Linked DNA regions of Homo sapiens: region 1 is linked to region 2. The links are contacts of gene promoters, found by promoter capture Hi-C in blood cells and fetal thymus (Javierre and others, 2016). All regions are on one chromosome and are shown on one strand. Each heading gives the region's core, a stretch centred on a gene start or on the middle of the fragment in contact. The rest is flanking DNA. Distances are from core to core; before and after follow the strand shown.

The links. The method cuts DNA at HindIII sites, captures the fragments that hold promoters and counts their contacts. A CHiCAGO score of 5 or more calls a contact.
Region 1: a fragment that was not itself captured here is called in contact with the fragment with the promoter of TEX19 in region 2 in 1 of 17 cell types (activated CD4 T cells); the score reaches 5.6 in activated CD4 T cells.

The regions. Positions count from the first base shown.
Region 1 is chr17:82,263,385-82,266,091 of GRCh38, reverse strand. CSNK1D (casein kinase 1 delta) reads left to right here. Exons shown (of 9, transcript NM_001893.6): 2 at 296-406. Among named protein-coding and RNA genes, the nearest start is that of CSNK1D, 9.0 kb to the left of the region's middle. RefSeq lists an enhancer at 1-407. The HindIII fragment of the contact is 2,024 bases long and covers 336-2,359 here.
Region 2 is chr17:82,357,653-82,360,672 of GRCh38, reverse strand. It overlaps TEX19 (testis expressed 19), which reads right to left and starts at 1,426. Exons shown (of 2, transcript NM_207459.4): 1 at 1,388-1,426. RefSeq lists a silencer at 1-240. The HindIII fragment of the contact is 12,499 bases long and covers 1-3,020 here.

The DNA.
Region 1 (2,707 bases), core at 98-2,597, 95 kb after region 2:
CCAGAAGGGCCACTGTGGAGAGGGAGCTGCAGCACCTGAAGACTGGTGGGCGGGTGATGGAAGCCACATAAACTTTCTGTGCAGTTCAAATTCGTCCTGTTGTGAAAATGGGAATATGGATAACTTCCCCCAGAGATGTGTCAGCCGATTAGCCCGCCTTACTATGCTAGGAAGGAGAACACATCCCTCACTTGGTCCTTCATGGAAAACACATAGTGCTTGTTGTTTCTCCAGCATGTTGGGTTATTTGGTGGATACCAGGTAATTCCTGTTGTGGTTTTCTTTCTTTGCCAAGGTACGGACATTGCTGCAGGAGAAGAGGTTGCCATCAAGCTTGAATGTGTCAAAACCAAACACCCTCAGCTCCACATTGAGAGCAAAATCTACAAGATGATGCAGGGAGGAGGTAGGTCTTTACCAGTCACAGAGCAACACCAGGGTTCTGTTTGACAAGGGAGAACAGCAACTCAGCATTGCTGGTTAAAATAAACCCAAAACTGGTTCTGGGCAAAAGGGAGGGAAGTGTTCTCCACACCCTGACAAAGCAGTCACAGCTTCCTTCAGAGAGTCTTGGGTCCAGAGACCCTCCCTCAACACAAAGAAACATCTTATGGGCCGGGCATGGTGGCTCACGCCTGGAATCCCAGCACTTTGGGAGGCCAAGATGGGTGGATCATTTGAGGTCAGTAGTTTGAGACTAGCCTGGCCAACGTAGTGAAACCCCGTCTCTACTAAAAATACAAAAATTAGCCAAGTGTGATGGCGTGCACCTGTAATCCCAGCTGTTTGGGAGGCTGAGGCAGGAGAATCGCCTGAGTCTGGGAGGCAGAGGTTGCGGTGAGCCGAGATCACGCCACTGCACTCCAGCCTGGGCGACAGAGTGAGACCCTGTCCCCCCCAAAAAAAAAAAAAATCTTATACCATCTTGTCCTTTTGTTTAAATTTTGCTTCATATTGGGTCATGGTTTCTGAAATCAAGAGTGTGTGTGAATAGGCCAGACGCAGTGGCTCACACCTGTAATCCCAGCACTTTGGGAGGCCGAGGCAGGCGGATCACGAGGTCAGGAGCTCGAGACCATCCTGGCTAACACAGTGAAACCCCGTCTCTACTAAAAATACAAAAAAAGTTAGCCGTTCGTGGTGGCGGGCGCCTGTAGTCCCAGCTACTTGGGAGGCTGAGGCAGGAGAATGGCGTGAACCCGGGAGGCAGAGCTTGCAGTGAGCCCAGATAGCGCCACTGCAGTCCAGCCTGGATGAAAGAGCGAGACTCCGTCTCAAAAAAAAAAAAAAAAAAGATTTTGTGTGAATTTCAATGCATGCTCCCCGTGGTGTCGTGTGCCCCTCAGTGGTCACTGGAGCTGTTGCCAGTGGCACGTGTGTTGCTCAGTGGGGCCTTCCTGATGTGTGATCCCTGAGTGAGGCCTCTGCTCCTTCGCATGCTTTGCTTATAGCTTGGGGGAAGTCCCTTCATACTCTCTGGGCTCGTTTTCTCCGAGCAAAACAAGGGTTTTGAACTTGGCGACCATCATGACCTCTTCCAGCTCAGTTACTGTCCCAGTTCTGCGAGCCCTCAGCCCAGGGCCTTAGGTACCTGGTGTTCCACGGTGGGCCAGGTGTGGAGCAGAGCGCTCCTGTCCTCCCCTCAGAGTCCAGCTCTTGCGAGTTCCCTGGACTTTCAAACAGTTGGGCTGATGGAGCAGGAGGGTATTCTCTGCGGGGATTTCAGAGCCATGAAGCGTGTGTCTCAACAGCAGAGCTTCGGTCTGGCAGGAGCCCTCTTTGGGAACAGAGCTTTTTGTCTGAAGAGTGGCTGTGCCACGTCTGTGGAGCCCTCCCAGTGAGAAGGCTCCGCGGCACATTTGTAGGTGGATGGTTGGGTGAGTCCCCTTGGGCAACTGGCCAAAGGAAAACCTGTTCAGGGCCTCTGTTAGCCCTTTTGTCACGGGAAAGGGAGGACTGTTGATTTGATTCTTTGACATCTTTTCTCAGCACAAGCACGTAATCTGTGCTACTACAAGAAACCGACGTTTCTAAGTTTATGTGACACAAAATATCTTTGGCAGCACCTGTGGTCCTGGGGAACCCGTTACAGAGAGGGGCACCCAGTGTGTCCCATCACGGGCCTCACGTGACCAGAGGAGGCCACAGGAATGAAAAATCCCATCACCAACCCAGGGAAAGCTCAGCAGAGACTCCGCCCTGGGAGCCTGTCTGGCGGCCCTTGGTGGTGGACTGGCTTCTCAAGGGCCTGGAGCCTGCATTGCCTTGAAGGTGTGACGAGCCAATAGAGCAGGGTGGTGCGGGGTGTGGCCTTGGCCTGCGGGAGCCTGGTGCTGGGGTCAAGTAAAACCTGCAAGCTTAAAAACACCTTAAGTTTTTACGAGAGATGTCTCCAGGAGAACTTGCAAGCCAGGGGTACACAAGGGCAAAGGGAAGAAAGCCAGTCCTTAGAAGCCCGGGATGGTCACTGGGGAAGCCAACCCTGAACCAAAAAGTGCTACGTGGTTCCGGACAGGACTTCTCCACTCGGCACTAGTGCCATTTGTAGTGGTGCGTTCTCTGCATGGTAGATGTTGGCAGCACCCCTGCCCCTAGTTGTGATACTCAAAACTTTCTTCAGACAGTGCTGAAGGCCCCTGGCAGGCAAAGTTGCTTCCCCTGTGGCCGCTGGCTTAAGAGAGTAAAGAAGCCTGCACCTTCATGTTCC
Region 2 (3,020 bases), core at 177-2,676:
GAGGGAACCCGAGGGAACCTGAGGGAAACTGGGGGAACCTGAGGGAAACTGAGGGAACCTGAGGGAAACTGGGGGAACCTGAGGGAAACTGGGGGAACCTGAGGGAAACTTGAGGGAAACTGGGGGAAACTGAGGGAAACTGGGGGAACCTGAGGGAAACTGAGGGAACCTGAGGGAACCTGAGGGAAACTGGGGGAACCTGAGGGAAACTTGAGGGAACCTGAGGGAAACTGGGGGAACCTGAGGGAAACTGAGGGAACCTGAGGGAAACTGGGGGAACCTGAGGGAAACTTGAGGGAAACTGGGGGAAACTGAGGGAAACTGGGGGAACCTGAGGGAAACTGAGGGAACCTGAGGGAAACTGGGGGAACCTGAGGGAAACTGGGGGAAACTGGGGGAACCTGAGGGAACCTGAGGGAAACTGGGGGAACCTGAGGGAAACTTGAGGGAAACTGGGGGAAACTGGGGGAACCTGGGGGAAACTGGGGGAACCTGAGGGAAACTGAGGGAACCTGAGGGAAACTGGGGGAACCTGAGGGAAACTTGAGGGAAACTGAGGGAACCTGAGGGAAACTGGGGGAACCTGAGGGAAACTTGAGGGAAACTGGGGGAAACTGGGGGAACCTGGGGGAAACTGGGGGAACCTGAGGGAACCTGAGGGAAACTGGGGGAACCTGAGGGAAACTTGAGGGAAACTGAGGGAACCTGAGGGAAACTGGGGGAACCTGAGGGAAACTTGAGGGAAACTGAGGGAAACTGGGGGAACCTGAGGGAAACTGGGGGAACCCGAGGGAAACTTGAGGGAAACTGGGGGAACCTGAGGGGAACTTGAGGGAAACTGGGGGAACCTGAGGGAAACTGGGGGAAACTGAGGGGAACTTGAGGGAAACTGAGGGAACCTGAGGGAAGCTGGGGGAAACTGAGGGAACCTGAGGGAAACTGAGGGAAATTTGAGGGAAACTGGGGGAAACTGAGGGAAACTTGAGGGAAACTGAGGGAACCTGAGGGAAACTGGGGGAACCTGAGGGAAGCTGAGGGAAACTTGAGGGAAACTGGGGGAACCTGAGGGAAACTTGAGGGAAACTGAGGGAACCTGAGGGAAACTGAGGGAAACTTGAGGGAAACTGAGGGAACCTGAGGGAAACTGAGGGAACCTGAGGGAAACTGAGGGAAACTTGAGGGAAACTGAGGGAACCTGAGGGAAACTGAGGGAAATTTGAGGGAACTTGGAGAACCTTAGGGAACCTGAGGGAAACTGAGGGAAATTTGAGGGAAACTGAGGGAACCTGAGGAATCCTGGCCCCGCTTCAGCCTCCCAACCCCTCACCCAGCACCAGGCCGTGTCTCCGAGACCCCTCCTCAGAGACCCCTCCTCGGGAGATCTCACCATCCTGGTGTCTCTGTTCATGTGGGCACCCAGGGAAAGGAGGAGGCAGAGCCCATTTGGGTATATAAAGGGCCATTTCCCATGGTGCTCTGGGCTCATCTGCATATCTCCCATGAGCCTCAGTTTCCAGGAAATGAAAGTGCTGAGTCACCAGCTCCCTCCAAGGAGGGCCATGTGCAGCCCCTGGGCACCTGCAGGAAGGCCCTGGAGAGGCAGCTCCTCTGGGGGCTGGAGATTGGGGTGGGTGCTCTCCGTCTGCAGGCTGGCACAGGGTGAGCATCCAGCCTGTGGTTGCTGGCCCGTCGTGGGCACGACGTCCTGGTCCTGCCGCGTTTGTAAAACGTGATCCCTGCTTTGCTGTCTCTGTCTTAAAGTTCTCTGAATTTTAAGAACCAGCCAATTGTCAATTAGTTATTGTTTAAACACATTTTCCCCTTTGTGGTTCATCTCTTCGCTCTTTAAACAAGACGCTTATAAATTAACACTTGTTTTTTCAGTAGACTCTATTTTTTACAGCAGTTTTAGGTTCATAGCAAAATTGAGCCAAAAGCATGGAGCTCTCCCACCGCTCCCCTGCTCCTGCAGGTGCACAGCCTTCCCCAGTCCTCCCGTCCCAGCCATTTGTTACACGTTGTTATTATCATCATCGCCCTCTGCAGTTTCCATTATGCTTTCCTCCGGTGCTGTGCATTCTGCAGGTTTGGACACATGTATAATCATGCAGACCCACCACTCTAATATTGTACAGACGGGTTTCTCCGCCCCGATTCATCTGTGTTCTGCATTTTCATCACTCCCTCTCCCAGCCCCTGGCAACCAGGAATCTTTTGACTGTCTCCTTAATTTTGCCTTTTCCAAAATGTCACAGAGCTGGACTCATACATTATGTAGCCTTTTCAACTTCTTTTTTAGTAATACGCACTTTGGTTCTTCCATGTCTTTTGTGGTTTGATAGTTCACTTCTTTTTTTTTTTTTTTTTTTTTTTGAGACAGAGTCTTGCTCTGTCACCCAGGCTGGAATGCACTGGTGAAATCACAGCTACTACAGCCTCAACCTCCTGGGCTCCTGTGATTTTCTCACCTCAGCCTCCCAAATAGCTGGGACTACAGGTGCTGGTGCACACCCCGATAAGTTTTGTATTTTTTGTGAGACAGGGCCTCACCATGTTGCCCACACTGGTATCAAACACTTGGGCTCAAGTGATCCGCCTGCCTCTGCCTCCCACAGTGCTGGGATTACAGACGTGAGCCACCTTGCATGGCCAGCTCACTTATTTTTTAACACTGAATGGTATTCCATTGTCTGGATGTACCATGGTTTATTTATCCATTCACCTATGGAAAGACATCTTGGTTGCTCCCAGGTTTGGGCAATTATGAATAAAGCTACTACAAATATTCATGTGCAGGTGTCTGTAGACATAAGTTCTCAACTCATTTTGGTAAACTCTAAGGAGTGAGATTGCTGGATGCTGTGGTCAGAGTGTGTTTAGTTTTGTAAGAAAGTGACAAATTGTCTCACACAGTGGCCCTGTGGGAGGAACCCCCAAACCCTTTCCCTACATCCCCATGACCTCTGCTCCTCCCCACCTGGCAGCTGTCTGTGCCTGGCTCAGGTCATCCACACACCTGG